Regions from separate parts of the Homo sapiens genome. Here all the other regions are linked to region 1. Evidence: promoter capture Hi-C in 16 types of primary human blood cells and fetal thymus (Javierre and others, 2016). All regions are on one chromosome and are shown on one strand. The core of a region is centred on a gene start or on the middle of the fragment in contact, and the rest is flanking DNA. Distances in the headings are between cores, read along the strand shown.

The links. The method cuts DNA at HindIII sites, captures the fragments that hold promoters and counts their contacts. A CHiCAGO score of 5 or more calls a contact.
Region 2: a contact is called between a fragment that was not itself captured here and the fragment with the promoter of ENKUR in region 1, in 1 of 17 cell types (total B cells). The highest score is 5.2, in total B cells.
Region 3: a contact is called between a fragment that was not itself captured here and the fragment with the promoter of ENKUR in region 1, in 1 of 17 cell types (total B cells). The highest score is 5.1, in total B cells.
Region 4: a contact is called between a fragment that was not itself captured here and the fragment with the promoter of ENKUR in region 1, in 1 of 17 cell types (naive CD8 T cells). The highest score is 6.1, in naive CD8 T cells.
Region 5: a contact is called between a fragment that was not itself captured here and the fragment with the promoter of ENKUR in region 1, in 1 of 17 cell types (monocytes). The highest score is 5.1, in monocytes.
Region 6: a contact is called between a fragment that was not itself captured here and the fragment with the promoter of ENKUR in region 1, in 1 of 17 cell types (total CD4 T cells). The highest score is 11.8, in total CD4 T cells.

What each region holds. Positions count from the first base shown.
Region 1 is chr10:25,014,797-25,017,469 of GRCh38, reverse strand. It overlaps ENKUR (enkurin, TRPC channel interacting protein), which reads left to right and starts at 1,312. Exons shown (of 6, transcript NM_145010.4): 1 at 1,312-1,610. The coding sequence starts at 1,534. THNSL1 (threonine synthase like 1) reads right to left here and starts at 858. Exons shown (of 3, transcript NM_024838.5): 1 at 778-858. RefSeq lists enhancers at 137-216, 816-1,110, 421-1,183 and silencers at 467-546, 727-926, 1,257-1,306. The HindIII fragment of the contact is 2,880 bases long and covers 42-2,673 here.
Region 2 is chr10:16,820,025-16,822,697 of GRCh38, reverse strand. It overlaps LOC105376435 (a long non-coding RNA gene), which reads right to left. Exons shown (of 3, transcript XR_930708.3): 3 at 1,441-1,870. Among named protein-coding and RNA genes, the nearest start is that of RSU1, 3.9 kb to the right of the region's middle. The HindIII fragment of the contact is 1,317 bases long and covers 635-1,951 here.
Region 3 is chr10:17,230,673-17,233,345 of GRCh38, reverse strand. VIM (vimentin) reads right to left here. Exons shown (of 10, transcript NM_003380.5): 3 at 2,636-2,673. Among named protein-coding and RNA genes, the nearest start is that of VIM-AS1, 2.0 kb to the right of the region's middle. The HindIII fragment of the contact is 987 bases long and covers 864-1,850 here.
Region 4 is chr10:17,646,241-17,648,913 of GRCh38, reverse strand. The region is part of intron 1 of STAM (signal transducing adaptor molecule); the gene reads right to left. Among named protein-coding and RNA genes, the nearest start is that of STAM, 3.4 kb to the right of the region's middle. The HindIII fragment of the contact is 1,847 bases long and covers 446-2,292 here.
Region 5 is chr10:18,645,619-18,648,291 of GRCh38, reverse strand. The region is part of intron 2 of NSUN6 (NOP2/Sun RNA methyltransferase 6); the gene reads left to right. Among named protein-coding and RNA genes, the nearest start is that of NSUN6, 4.6 kb to the left of the region's middle. The HindIII fragment of the contact is 1,063 bases long and covers 815-1,877 here.
Region 6 is chr10:18,665,823-18,668,495 of GRCh38, reverse strand. ARL5B (ARF like GTPase 5B) reads right to left here. Exons shown (of 6, transcript NM_178815.5): 2 at 1,861-1,921. Among named protein-coding and RNA genes, the nearest start is that of ARL5B, 7.7 kb to the right of the region's middle. The HindIII fragment of the contact is 2,205 bases long and covers 196-2,400 here.

The sequences.
Region 1 (2,673 bases), core at 63-2,562:
AACCCAGACTCAAGTGTGTTTTCTCTCCTCTCCGGGAAGCTTTATTTCCTTCGGGCAGAGTGGCCTCTGTACCGGTGGTTCAGAGGCATCCATCTTCCTCCCCAAATCCTATTACCAAAATGTCTTTTAAACACTCGGGTAAAAGCGTCTAAATGACTTTCCTACGGCAGGCCCATGTGCATAGATTTACGGGTGACCAGGTGGAACAAAAAGGAATAAAACCGCTTCTCAGAAGACAATTTTCCAACAAGGGACACCAAAAACTGGACAAAAACGTAAAGGCCCACTTAAAAGGCTTCTCCTCTTAGTTTAGGCTGCTCATTTACAAAGAGCAGGTCCACTGGTTCCTGGAGAACGACCTAGAGGAAGAGTCCCGACCCGGGGAAGAGCAGGCGCAGAGCCGACCCGGAGGACCGCCCAAGGGGCGGTCCCGGGAGCAGGGGCGGGAGGGCGAGCGCAGCAGGCGGAGGAGGCCGCGGGCCCCGTGCGCGCACTCACACACGTGGCGGGCAGGGCTGCGCGGCGTTCCGAGGAGCCTCGACCAGAAGCAGCAGGAAAAATGCGCGCAGAGTTGAGATGACCAGCGAGTAGCGGAAAGGGGAAGGGACGGTACGGGGAAAGGCATGCGATGGGAGCGGGCTGGCTTCTAGTTTTCCTTCCTTTCTCCTCCAATAACTCACCAAGGAAATCTCACTGAGAAGACGGGGGAAATGAAAGGAAATGGGGGAGCAGTGTCCACGAGCCGCTAAAGCCTCCACAGGAGACGGAGCACCGTACCTGCAGCTAGCTCCCCGGTCCCGCCCCCGCGCAGTGGACTCTGCGCCTGTGCCTGCGGCGGCCAGCGTGCCTCCGCTCCACGCCCTTCCCCGAGCGGCCTCGCGCAGGGCACGTGACTCTCCTTTCTCACTGTAGCCTATCCGAGCACTCCGATCTCCTCAGGCTCCTCCCCTCCCTCGTCTCCCTGGCGGCGCTGGCCTTGCGTCCTCGTGGTCTCAGCCGCTCGCTCCGCCCACACCGCGATTGGGGCCTGCTCACAAAAACCTTATTGGGTGACGCCTGCGCACCAGCTGCGCTTTGCCGTCTCTACTAGGATTTTTCTTTTTTCCCCAGATACACAGAAATAGAAAAGAGCACAGTTTTTAAGGGGACATCATTTTCACCCCGTTAACTTTCAAAGGCACGTAAAAACAGTGGCTTCCAAATGAGCTTCTCTAGCAGAAGGCGCTGCAGAAAGAGGGAAGAGGGGAGACCTAGTTTGCGGTGCTGCCTGCCACTTCCTCGTTGCCTAGTAACGGTTTCCACGGCAACCGCACAGTCAACGACGCTTAGCAATCCGGAGAGAAATAGGGTGTTTTCTTCCCGAGAGAGGACTGCTAAGAGGGGGTTAAAGGGGGACGATGTGAAGGAGAGAACCTGTGGTCCTTCAGAAGGCGAAGAAGAAAGAAAGGGGAAGCAGTGAAGAAAGGGACGGAGATACTGGGACAGGGAGAAAAAAGTTGTGGAGAGTAGCTTTTAAGGAGTCATTTGGTGGCCATGGATCCAACGTGCTCTTCTGAGTGCATTTATAACCTCATACCCAGTGACTTGAAGGAGCCTCCCCAGCCTCCTAGGTATGTGGATAAGCAAAGACTATCACTTGAAACAAGAATGGGGAATACTCAGTATTAATTAAGCATACATATACTGGAATTTTTAATAATAAATAAAATGTATTTTTGCCTCGATGAAGTAGCCTTGGAGGATAACTTGTTAGAGAAAAGGTCGAAATATCTAGGTATTCAGCATCTCACAGTTTTACAGAGAGGGCAGTCTGGCGCTGTGAGATGACCATTTTATTATATTACACTTAACCTCTTATTAATACGGTATGTGATTATTGTGTAATTTAATTATATGTGATATACAGCATAGTATGAAGTTTCATGTTGAAAAGAAAAAAATCACAATTCTATTATCTTGTTTAAGGATACTTGATGTTTGGTTTCAGGAGTTCGGTGTTGTATTTCTAACTGCACTACTCCCTCTCTAATGGGATAGGATAGGACTTTTCCCCCAAGATTTTTATGAAATATAAATTTACATTTGCTTTTGAGCCTCAGGTTTTTGATCAGTGAAACGAAATATCTACCACTATTAGGCAGTTTCTAAGGACTTTTTCAGATCTAATGGTTTAAATGGAAGGAAGAATTGGTGGATAGATAATGAACCAAAAAATATGTAATTGAGTTGAAATTTTACATAGGTCTTAGAACCTCTTAAATTCTCCAAATCTCAAAAACGTGCAAAGGAAGCACTTCAGTTACTCCCATCTGTAGGGACTTCTTAGAACTTACTTAAATCTGTGGGGAGCAAAGAAAGTAGTGGAGAAAATCTCATTTCTCCTAGGACTTGAAATGTTTCCTGTCTTTTACCATCATCCTTGTCCGTATGCAAGTCAAAACCACATTTGAAAAGGACTGGACTAAAAATCGGGCCTAGCAATTAATTGTCTTTGTGAACTTTAGAATAAAGTTTCATTTGTTTACTGATCTGTGAGATAAATGTACCAGATAATATCCAAGGCCCCTTTTAGATCTAATGGTCAATTATTTTTACTAGTATTAGGGTAATAGCTTCAACAAGTAGGCAGCTTCTTCAATTTTAAGTATCTGGTTTAAATTAGAGCAGTAACTG
Region 2 (2,673 bases), core at 44-2,543, 8.2 Mb after region 1:
ACACTCTGCTTTCCTTTTTAATATAAGTTCCAATTCGAAGTCATTTCTTTGCTCCCACATCTGAGCACATGCTATTAGAAGCAGCCAGCCCAAATCTTGAACACTTTGCTGCTTAGAAATTTTTTCCACCAGATACCCCAGGTTGCCACTCTTTAGTTCAAACTTCCACAGATCCCTAGGGCATGGACAGAATGCAGCCAAGTTCTTTGCTAAGGCATAATATGTGTCACCTTTGCTCCAGTTCCCACTAAGTTCCTCATTACCATCGAAGACCTTGGCAGCCTGGACTTCATTATCCATATCACTATCAGAATTTTAGTTGCAACTTTTAAACAGTCTCTAAGAAGTTCCAAATTTTCCCTCATCTTTATGTCTTCTGAGCCTTCCAAACTCTTCCAACCTCTACCCATTATCTTGTTCCAAAGTCAGTTCCACATTTTCAGGTATCTTTATAACAAAACCCCACTCCTGGTACCAATTTTCTGTAATAGATCATTCTTGCATTGCTATAAAGAAATACCCGAGACTGGGTAACTTATAAAGAAAAGAGGTTTAATCTGCTCACAGCTCTGCAGGCTTTATAGGAAACATGGTGCTGACATCTGCTTGGCTTCTGGGGCAGCCTCAGGAAGCTTATAATCATGGAGGAAGGCGAAGGGGAAACAGGCATGTCACACGGTGAAAGCAGGAGCAAGACAGCGAGAGTATGGGACAGGTGCCACACACTTTTAAGTGGCCAGCTCTCATGTGAACTCAGAGCAAGAGCTCACTTATCACCAAGGGTATGGCCCAAGCCATTCATGAGGGATCTACCCCCACGATCTAAACACCTCCCACCAGGCCGATCTCCAACACTGGCTTTTATAACTCAACATGAGATTTGAGCAGGGACAAATATCCAAACTCTATTATGTATTTACGCTCAGGAGTACAAAGTTTCCATAAGCACCACCATTGCCTATTCCTTAACACAATATGTTAAGTTATAAATAAACAATATGGTTTGCCACTTAACAAGAAGTAGAAAGTTCAGTAGCACATCCTTATCTCCAATGCTGCCAGACATGTAACTAAGTGAGGTAGTTATTAGCTTCCTTTTCATAAGAAAATTCAATGCTTTTATAAAGTTTTTCAGTGCCTCTAGAAAAGCGGAAGCCTTTACAAAGGAGATTTGCTTTATGTTAATTATGCAAAATCAAGGGTTATTAACAAAAGACCATGTGAATGAGAGAAGCTGAGGAATGTAACTTCATCTTACTCTAATACTCAAATGGCAGATAATTATTTCTGGACAGAGTATGGAGCCACAGAAATAAAATACTCTAACCTTGAAAATTCAGCTACTCAGGAGGCTGAGGCTGGACAATCACTTGAACCTAGGAGGCGGAGGTTTCAGTGAGCCAACATCGCGCCACTTCACTCCAGTGTGGGTTACAGAATGAGACTCCATCTCAAAAAAACAAACAACAACAACAACAATTCCTGCTCCCTTTTTGTATTATGGATAGACATATCAACTTTATGGGTGACAATTACATTGGAAAGGACAGTGAATGCGATAAGTAACACCATCAAATCCAAAAGGTCTTGATAAGCTACAACAATGGGCCAATTGTAACAGACGAAATGTGACAGATATAAGATCTTCCTCTTTTATCAAAAAATGAATTGCAAAAGTACAGAATACAGGGAAAGTTTAACAATAACATGAAATGACATAGTACTTTTCTGAAAGAAAGATTAACATGATGTCACTGTCAAAAAAATGATGCTTAGAGCATGGACTGCATCATTAGAGTAACGGTATCATTTCCACTCAGAAGGGCATGCTTTTCTAGGAGGCATATTGGAATATCTGGGAAGTGTGTACCTGAAATTGAGGAAAGCATAGTCAATATTATTATGTAATTTTAAAATTAAAAATACAGAAAAAAAGAGACAAAATGAAGCTTTACAAAATCTTCCAGGCTGGGCATCTAGGAAATAAGCAGTGATTTTTTAGTGGGTTAGGGATGGTCAGGCTTGGGAGCATGACATTTTCGTGTATAGCCAAGGGAAGTAGTTATTGAGTAATTCAGTTTTTGAGTAATTCAGCTGGAAGAAGGAGAAAAGAGTCAACTGTACTCTCATTCGTAAGACCCACCGTATATCCTCTGGTTCTGCTTTACATTTAATTCACTTGTTTCCAAATGTTTATTGAGCATCAGCTATGTGATACGTACTCAGCGCACTGAGGATAAAGCAGAGAACAAGACAGCCATACAAGACTATCAGCTGATGTCTCCCAGCTTCACAAAGCACACTTCCCAGCTCCATCTTGCTTGATTTCCTGAGCCAGTCCTGAGGCAAAAACCTTAATATTCTTATCTGGTGAAACATACATTGAGCCAACTTCCCAGATCTAGTGGCCAAGGGATAAGTTTCCTGATTCCAAATTGTGTCACCATGAAGTTTCACTGCTAGCAATCAGGACCCTGGACAGGCTAACCATCATCCTAGCAAATTAATCAAACCTGAGAAGGGGGTGTGGGAACCCTGATTTATAGCTGGTCAGTCAGAAGTGTAGGTGACAGTCAACCTAAAGTCTTGTGGAAATGAACCCTTAACTTGTGGGATTTGACTATAAGTTGAGGTAGACAGTGTCAGAATTAAGTTAAACTGTAAGACACCGAG
Region 3 (2,673 bases), core at 108-2,607, 7.8 Mb after region 1:
CAATTTTAAAATAAATAAATGTCCACACACATGGTAAACTGCACTCAATCATGACTGAATCCACATTTTACCAGTGATATTTTAAAATTACTTTTTAAGGCTGGTCATGGTGGCTTATGCCTGTAATCCCAGCACTTTGGGAGGCTGAGACGGGTGGATCACTTGAGGTCAGGAGTTCGAGACCAGCCTAGCCAACATGGCGAAACCCCGTCTCTACCAAAAATACAAAAATTAGCTGGGTGTGGTGGCACATGCCTGTAGTCCCAGCTACTTGGGAGGTTGAGGCAGGAGAATTTCTTCAACCCAGGAGGCAGAGGTTGCAGTGAGCCAACATAGTGCCACTGCACTCCAGCCTGGGCAACAGAGTGACACTCTGTCTCAAAAAATAAAGTAATTCATTTAATTTAATTACTTTTTAAATCTAGAAAATCTATGCCACAACATTTTTAAGATTTGTTTTGTAATTTCATGGAATAACATGATGATAGAGGTGGACAAATTTTCACAACTTCATGTACACTTGAGTACATGGAGAACAGAAACTTGTGCTTCAAGAGTTTTAGCTTTTCTTCTCCACTCAAATCTTTTGAAACTTATCCTTAGGCTCCAAAGCAAATATGTAGTCATCTGGCATCCATTGTACAAGGCTAGATTTATATTCAATAACCCAATTCAGGATATGCATGCCAAAGATTCAGTTCAGGAAAAAATGGAAAAGAAATGTAACTCTGAACTGTATTTGCTTGGCTTTCTCTGGTGGATTTTTCTTCTAAAACTCCTTTGACTCATCCTGTAAAGGCATGTCTTTTTCACTTGCCACTGTATCAGTTCAGTTAGCCTGTTTCAGAATGACTGGTCAAGCTTGCAAAGAATGAAACTACATAAAGGATTTTTGCTGATTCAGCCGTCCTTCTATATTTCCATTTAAAAAGCTCAGCATTCCAAATCAGAATATGTAATCTTGCAACTAAGATTTTATTTCCTCTCAAAAGGATGCGTGAGGATTGCTTATCTTGTCAGCAATTATATTTGGAGTTCATAGCCTTACGGTCTTAAACTGTTGAGACTTTTCTATCACCTTAGTGGAAAAATGAATGAAGAGTGGGTGACAAAAAGATCAGACTTGATGAAAACATTGATTTTTACTTGTTAAGCCCTGAAAAATACATAAAAGATATTTTACTAACCTCCAAAGAAAGATCAATGTGGTATTCTATCACATTGAAGAGAATGAGGAATTTTGCTTAATCTCGAAACAGAGGATCTTTTGTATTGATGTTGTTTTATGTTAACTCACTACACTGCAGAAAACATGACAGGTATGATAATCAAAAATGCTCAAGGACTAAAATGAACCACACACATTGCTGTGGTTAAATTAATTTGGTAAATGTATTTCAGTTTCAAAATGTTATACTACACTATTCATCTGAGAGTGCTTTGCAGTTAATCCCAGTAAATATTCCAGGGAATACAACTATAAACTATAATGGGGATCTTCTGGCTTTTGGATTCCAATTTTAAGTTAAAAATTCTGTAAGTCCATCTAATTTTGGTGAAAAAAAAAAAAAACACGCACAAAAACCCTTTAGTTAAAATTCAGTTTTTCAGCCTTGGGTTTATTACTGTTATTATTTTTTATGGCAAGAGTGCTAAAGAACACAAGAACCCAATCAAGAAAGGACTTTTAAAATGTGAGGTATGCTTGTAGCTTTAAAAACTTTTTACATTACCTACTTCTCAAGTCTGGGCCAGATATTAGATAACGGATGTTAGCAAATACTTGTGTCCAATTAGAACCGTGCTTACATCATTACATATTCAGTAAGAATGTAGCCTGTTGCAAAGCTTCCCTGGGAATACAAAGACTCCTATTATTTCTGTCCAGAGCCACCACATTTGCCAGAATGTCTGTATCTACATTCCATAGTGAAGCCCATAGAAACCATTAATACCCCTTAGCCAAGGGGACAGATGGCTCCTTTTCACCCTTATTAGATCACAAAATAGTTGTGCATAGTGATACTTCCATCGAACTTTAATGACACAATAGAATTTGCAAAGAAGAAAAGAAACTTGCTGGCTCCATTCCAGTTGGAAACTAAGTTTTCTTATCTTCCAACACGTTTTCCATTTTAAACTGCAGGGCATAATTGCGCTTTTTGTGGCCTTGTAAAAATTAAGCAACTTGACTTTGGCAAACCACAATCTAAAATTGTAACCGTTCGAAACCAGAAGGTCAATGTGTTGCAAAACTGTGCAACATTTGGGAAACAAAGTAAAAAGTTAAAAGATTTTTCTTTATGTCCCAAGGAACTGCTTAGAAATCATTCAAGGATCGCTTGAACCCGGGAGGCGGAGGATGCAGTGAGCCAAGATCTCGCCACTGCACTCCAGCCTGGGCGACAGAGTAAGACTCCGTCTCAAAAAAAAAAAAAAAATCGCTCAAGGGGTTTTATTAATATTTTTCTAATCATGAGAAGCTCCAACCTGTGGTCTTCCCGCCACTAGAGGGCTTTACGCGCAGCCCTGAAGTTTTGCACTTTTTAGACGTGAGTTAAGCAACTTTTAGAATTGCTCGTGGGTTGTGTTGGGTGGGGTCAGGCGGCTGCGAGTGGGAAGAGAGTCTACAAACCTGTCTGAAAGATTGCAGGGTGTTTTCGGCTTCCTCTC
Region 4 (2,673 bases), core at 120-2,619, 7.4 Mb after region 1:
CTGGAGATCATAATCATATCAGACACACAGGAAGAAGCCATATTGTGAGCCACAATAAAAAAACTTGCATTTCCCTTTAAGTAGGATAGGAAGCTACCAGAGAACTCTGAGCAGGTAACTGACATTATCTAACATTTTTAAAAGATCACTGACCTTTGTAAATGAGAACTGATTGTAGAGGCAAGAGTGGTAACAAAGAAACCTACCAGAAGGCTCTTGCCACTGACTATAAGAGATAACAATGACTGAAGTAAGGTAAGAATGGTGAGACAGAAAAAGGTGATGATGTGTCCGGAGTTTGTTCCCTCTGGTGGGTTTGTGGTCTCGCTGACGTCAAGAATGAAGCCACGGACCTTTGTGGTGAGTGTTACAGCTCTTAAAGGTAGCACGGACCCAAAGAGTGAGCAGCACCAAGATTTATTGTGCAGAGTGAAAGAACAAAGCTTCCACAGCATGGAAGGGGACCCGAGCCGGTTGCTGCTGCTGGCTAGGGTGCCCAGCTTTTATTCTCTTATTTGTCCCCGCCCATGTCCTGCTGATTGGTTCATTTTACAGAGTGCTAATTGGTCCATTTTACAAACCTCTAGCTAGCTACAGAGCACTGATTGGTGCATTTTACAAACCTCCAGCTAGCTACAGAGCACTGATTGGTGCGTTTTTACAGAGCACTGATCGGTGCATTTTACAATCCCCTTGTAAGACCGAAAAGTTCTCCAAGTCCCCACTTGACCCAGGAAGTCCAGCTAGTTTCACCTGTCAATGAAATTCTGGATATATTTTTAAAGTACAGCCAAAATATCTTGCTGATAGGATGAATGTGAAGTGTGAAGAAATAAGAAGAATCAGTGATACTCCTAGACATTGGAGCTCAGTGACAGGAAACAGTAATCATGTTGTCGTCTACTGAGAAGGGCAAGGATGAAGGAATGAGCAGGTTTGGGCAAAGAACTAAGAATTGAGTTTTTGAATGTTTGTTTTTAGACTCTAAGCAGAATCCAAATGGAGATGCTCAGTAAGGAGATGGATATCTAGGTCGAGAGCTCAGGCAAGAGGCTGAGAGTAAGAACATAAATCCAGGAGTCACCAGAATACGCTAGGTATTTAAAGCTAAGAAATTAGATGAGGTTCTTTTTAAAATCTTACTTAATAAAAAGTACAGAAATTTTTCTAAGTGCTTTACAAATATTAACTCAACCCTCTTAACAACTCTCTGAGGTAAGAACTATTATTACTCTTATATTCCATATTAAAGATAAGGAAACTGAGACACAGATTATCTAAGCAACTAGGCCAAAAATCACACTACCGGTAAGCAGCAAACCTGGGACTGAATCCAAGCAGTGTGGCCCCAGTCTGAATTCTTAACACTAAGCTAAATTGCTTCCTAATACTCTAAGGGAAAAAAAAAAGTGGAAGGAGAGAAGAGGCTCCGGAACTGAGCCGCAGGGCACTCAACTTTTAGAAGTTGCAAAAAGGGGAAGCAAAAAAATTTAAAAGGAGCTAAGTAGAAAATGAGAAAAAGTTTGGTGTCCTGAAATCCCATGAATAAAATACTGTATATCAAAGAGGAATGCTTAAGAGATCAAAAAAGAAATGGACTAGAAAGTGACCATTGGATTTGGCAAGGTGGAAGTCACTAGAGACTTTGAAATACAAACTTGATGAAATAAGTTATCTTTACGTTTCTTCTAAATTCAGCTCTTGAATTATAATGTCCAAAATGAGATTCATTTATTCCATAAATGTTTACTGAAAGTTCTTCAGCATGCCAAAAACTGGTCTACAGCTAGGGATACGGCAGTGAAAAAATCAAACAAAAATCCCTGTCCTCACAGAGCTCACATTCTAGTAACATCTTTCGGTGTTTCTTCCAAGGGAAAAGCTATCACCAGCATTGTGTCTCTTTATAAAAAATGTTATATTATATAAATCAGTCAGTGAATTTCTGATTCAGCCTCAGATTAAGACTGAAGACAATTAATTTTGAAGATGTGCAAATGTATACGAGTGTTAAGTGATAAATAACTGTATCAAATGAGTTACTTTAATGTTATGACATATTCATTGGTAGATATGGTGAAAGAAAAAATTGTTAAGTGTATTCTATACACTGTATTCTATATGTTATACTATTAAAAAATAATATGAGTCTACTGGACTCTGTGCAAGGCTTATGTACTGGGAATCTCTGAGGGGTCTTCTTAGATAAACCTTTTGTAATATTTCAATACAAGGATTGTGAGAAGAGAATTGGTCCAATACCAAAACCTGAGCAACTTTAAAAAGTAAGCTTTTCTGGAGCAAAACAATGTTGCTACACTGAAGAAGTATAATGTCTGGCAGGCTCAACTGACACATTCTCAACTCAACAAACATTATTAAACACCTCCTATGTAGCAACCTCTCATTAAGGAGTATAAAACTATCTTGAATGCTAAATAATTCGGTAAAGGCAAAAATGCTAAAATAAGTTAGAGGATTTTGTAAGAAGGTGGAAATTAGAGTGGACTAGTGCAGCGGTTCTCAACTGGGAGGTATTTTGTCCTTCCAGGGGGCATTTAGCAATGTCCTGAGACTTCTAAAATCATGAGTGGGGGCTGGGTGTCACCGGCATCTAGTGGATAAAGGCCAGGGATAAGGCTGAACACCCTACATTGCACAGGACAAACTCCT
Region 5 (2,673 bases), core at 97-2,596, 6.4 Mb after region 1:
ATTCATTTTTGGTGACTAAAATAGCTCATTAAACCCCTCTGGGCCGCATTAAACTGGGCCTTAGTAGCTTCATCATTAAAATACATGTGAAGAAGTCCAGTCTAACCTTAAAAACCTGTGGCTTTGTGATAAGTAGCATATAATGACCAGGAGGACAGATGGTATAGCTGAGATAATAAGCCCAGGGGTAAGGAGGTACATACTAAGTACCTGTGAGATTATATTGTTAATTGACATAAAAAAATAGATGTTGGGCCAGGCGTGGTGGCTCATGCCTGTAATCGCAGCATTTTGGGAGGCTGAAGCAGGTGGATCACATGAGGCCAGGACTTTGGGACCAGCCTGGCCAGTATGGCGAAACCCTGTCTCTACTAAAACATATAAAAAAATTATTCGGGCATGATGGCACATGCCTGTGATCTCAGCTACTTGGGAGGCTGAGGCACGAGTAATCCCTTGAACCCGGGAGGTGGAGGTTGCAGTGAGCCGAAATTGCATGACTGCACTCCAGCCTGGGCGATGGAATGAGACTCTGTCTCAAAAAAAAAAAAAAAAAAAAAAAAAAACAAGGTGTTGAGCGCCTTATGTTTTATAAAACCAGGAAATTAAGATGATGAATCTGAATCTATTTTCAATGTAAAACAGCATGAGACTTTTTTTACCCAACCAATAAAATAGTTTTGGCAAAATATTCCTCTTACAGATGAAAACAATATTATAAAATGGCATTTATGACTTCTAAGCAGAAAGTATGAGTTATCTTGTTTATATTTTTTTGAGTTATCTTGTATATACTCTTTTGCTTTTGAAAGCTTTGCCTTAGGTGTTTCATACACTGTACACTGAAATTTACCTCAAAAGCAATGTAGGATGTAGAAGAATAGATGCTGAGAGGTACCACATAAATTGTATACTGTAGTTATTCACTGACTGGTAACATGTAACGTGGGTGTCAGCAGACTCATTTCTGCCTTATTTGTGTCTGAGTTAAAAGCGAGAGGCAACCATGATTAAAGGGTTTCCATTTGTCAATCACAAGCTGTATTTAGTTATTTAGAAAATTTCAGAAAATTATCACTGAGTCACTTATCCCCTTTTAAAAAATCTCTCTATTACATTTATGGACTCTTTGTCATACTCTATTTAAGAACAACTATAAGTACCAAGTTGTGAATAGACAACCATGTTATTAGAAGAACCAGCTATGGCATCTCAGTGTATGAGACCAAACCTTAGTATAATAATTAAATAAGATTTTTTAAAAATTAATCTGATTTTTATTGATAGTGATAATCTTATTGAGAGTAATGACAGGTATAAAACATAAGTAGTTGCCCTAAGCAACTAAAATCATTACTTTTCCATAACCATGTGTATGTTTTCAGCTAATAAAAAGGAAACTGTTCTGAGGCCCACTGGAAGTATCCATAACTCAGATCCAGATTTTTTTTGTTTTGTTTTGAGAGGGAGTCTCACTCTGTCGCCCAGGCTGCAGTGCGGTGGCACGATCTTGGCTCACTGCAACCTCTGCTTCCTGTGTTCAAGCGATTCTCCTGCCTCAACCTCCCAAGTAGCTGGGACTACAGACGCCTGCTACATTTTTGTATTTTTAGTAGAGATGGGGTTTCACCATATTGGCTAGGCTGGTCTCGAACTCCTGACCCTGTGATCTGCCCACCTTGGCCTCCCAAACTGCTGGGATTACAGGCGTGAGGCCTTGTGCCTGGCTTTATTATTTTTTTTTTCCACAACAAATGATTTCCAGAACCTGGATATTTTAGCATCCTAGTCTGGATATACAAGATCCCATGGGCTAGGATCAGTCACTCTGGACTTTGGGTCCCTTTCTTTGAAGGTTAACGTTGGACAGGGAAGCTTCGGTCAGAGTCACTAGATAGGAAACCAATGGTAAAGCAGTACCCGATTCTAGTAAGAAAGTGTACTTGGAGGAGGTTTTAGGCTGTGGATTTCTTTTTCCTTTCACGTTGAAAAGTTCACGTGTCCTAAAGAGATGTCCTGAATAGGATGATATAAAAGTAAGTGTTTTCTCCCCAATATCTGTGCACCACATATTGAATTATTATTATCATTATTTTTTAGATGGAGTCTCGCTCTGTTGCTCAGGCTGGAGTGCAGTGGTGCGATCTTGGCTCACTGCAACCTCTGCCTCCCAGGTTCAAGCGATTCTCCTGGCTTAGCCTCCCGAGTAGCTGGGATTATATGCACTCGCCACAATGCTCGGCTAATTTTGATATTCTTAGCACAGATGGGATTTCACCATGTTGGCCAGGCTGGTCTCGAACTCCTAACTTCAAGTGATCTGCGTGCCTTGGCTTCCCAAAATGTTGGGATTACACGCGTGAATCCCATATATCTCCGTGCCTGGCCTGAAATTTAATAATATAAAATTTAATTAGGCTGGTGACAATATGGAGAAGCTGGAATCTTCAAACATTGTAGGTTGAAATGTAAATAATATGATCTCTTTGGAACATTGGTGGTATCTTAAAAAGTTAATCATACTCTAAAACCCAGCAATTCCACTCCTAGGTATATACTCCAAATAAATGAAAACATATGTTCATATAAATTCTCCAGCATGAATGTTCATAGCAGCACTACTCATAATAATCAAAAGGGGATACTCCAAATATACATCAGCTCTTAAGTAGA
Region 6 (2,673 bases), core at 49-2,548, 6.3 Mb after region 1:
AATCTTGAGAATCTGAAGCAACTTTTATCTCTGTATTTTTAAGATCAATCAACCTTCTGCACCAATGATGGTGATCATTAGCATGAAAATTATAAACCTGGAGAACACTTGCGCAAATCAATATCTAGATAACAACTCCAGAAGAAAGACTTGTTTCTTGTTTGTTTTTTTTTTTAACGGAAGGAATTGCAAGCTTGATGGAAAAGAAAGGAAACAGTGTGGTGTGAATTTGCATTTCTGTGGCCAAAAATTCCAATACCACCATGCCCTGTTATCAGTTAGATAAGACCCAATGTCCCATGCCATCCTGAAAAGCAAGTTTCTAGGTGATTGCAAAATAGCAAATATTGGATAGCAGGCTATCTATAATTTTGAAGACTGTCTAAATTGAGACTTAGTCACAAAAATTAATTCAGGCATATTAATCTAAAGTAGTCCTAAAAAGATGACCATGGGCAAGTAAAAATTTAAATTAACTATAGATATATTTAGAAGGCCAGGTGTGGTGGCTCACACCTATAATTCTAGCACTTTGGGTGGATCACCTGAGGTCAAGAACTTGAGACCATCCTGACCAACATGGTGAAGCCTCGTCTCTACTAAAAATACAAAAATTTGCAGGGCGTGGTGGTGGGCGCTTGTAATCCCAGCTACTCTGGAAGCTGAGGCAGGAGAACCGCCTGAACCTGGGAGGTGGAGATCACGCCATTGCACTCCACCCTTAGAAACAGAGCAAAACTCTGTCTCAAATATGTGTGTGTGTGTGTTTGTGTGTGTGTGTATATATATATATATATATTTAGAATACTGATGCTCATACCCCTCGTATTATCATAATCATTGGTAAAGCTACATTAATCAATTAATTCAACAAATATGCCCTTGCCAGTAACATGTCACTACTGTGTTGGAGGAGGCTTGCAATTCTCTTGGGTTTTATGTATATTTTTGAAGCCATGTGTAAAATTATTTCAACAAAGATGACAGGTTTCTGAAATGTTTATATGTGATGTTTAAAAGCTAATTCATATTTAAACACATAATCACCAATGAATGAAAATGTTTTCAAGAGAAACAAGTAGTTGTTCAACTCTGAAACAACAAACTTTAAGTCAGTAGCTTTTTAGCAAAGTAGCTGAAAAATGCGTTAATCACTGGCTAATGAAGTACTTCTGGTGAGCTGATGGCTGTCTTCTAATGCAACATGAGTGGGAAGAGGTAAGAGCCACACAATGGGGCAAAGAACTGTAGAACTATTTTGTTAAAGTGCCTGGTAGATCCACTTCTACTGCTTAATACTATCATTTCATTGGCATTGAAAGGATAATGGAAGGTACTCTGACAAGTGGAATGATGAGCTGTGAAAATTTCCTAAGGTATTAACAGATTTCTCTGAAAGTCTCAAGACTCTCCCTCTTGCAAGCTACTACAGCAATATTTTCAGGAGTGATCACATTTCTTTTGACAAGTCTGGCTATGTTAAAAAATTCCAAAGCTATTAGTCAGGAGGGTAGCAATGGCTTCCTAGAGCTATCAATTTATTTACATAAACCCAAGTGGGGTAAGAACTAAGTGAAATCCACTTTATCACCTCACCCCAGCACTTCTAATATGCGCTTTATTTATTTAATATTAATTTCTTTCTTTCGAGGGCAGAAAACAATAAGTGTTTGTGAAGGGTTTAGCAAATGTTTATTTCACTCACTTTTCTATAGATTGTGTTCGGTAAAATTAAAAAAACAAAAAACAAAAAACATATATTTAAGTTTTTCCGTCATTATTATAATGCATCTCTTATTAATTGTAAACACATTAGTTTCAATAACTAGTGAAAACTGTTTAATAAACACCCATACTTACAATTGGTAAAGAATGGTGGTTTTCCCTGCATTATCCAGTCCCACTATAATTACTTTGTGTTCTACAAAAAGAAAGCAAATCATAAACATTTAACACTACTGCATTACTGCAATTACATGCTTTCAACAATGATTATTAGTTAGCTCATTAATGAGAATCATTCACTGAATATCTATCACTAGACTTAAAATGCAGAAAGAAATGTTATGATGTTAAGGCTACCTAGGTTAAGTAACAAAATCAATTATCATTGATTCTCTGTCTAGTTCTCATGTAAAAGAATGTGGGAGATGGGTAGGCAGGAAACACCAGCAAAGTTGGTCACTTATATTGCATCTAGGGGAGAGGAGACCCAAATATTAATCTAGGCAAAAATTATAACCTAAATGTAAGTTTTTTAAAAAGCCTGTTTTACACACCTTTTTAGCTCTGTACCAATCAAGTTAGCTTTTTATCAAAATGTTTTCATATCTGTAAGTTTCCCCACCTATGTATACCAGGATCTGTTTCTTCCTCTCACTTAAAAATCCCATGTAAGCTTAAAATTGAAACGTTTCATGTGTCACAAAGACAAACATATACTCTCAAGTTTTTACACAATTACTCATTGTTTAACATTTTTTCAACCGGCTTCTACAGTTCTTTTGAGCAGATTCTGTTTCTGCTCTTTGTACAATGAAAATCTCTTCAGTTCTTTCCTCCTTTGGGTGCCATGCACTAAATATTCACCTCTTTTAATAAGTAGTTGCTAAAGCTCATCTAATTATTCCGTTAAGTGGTATATATTCTGCAATGTCCTTTGAATACAGAAAA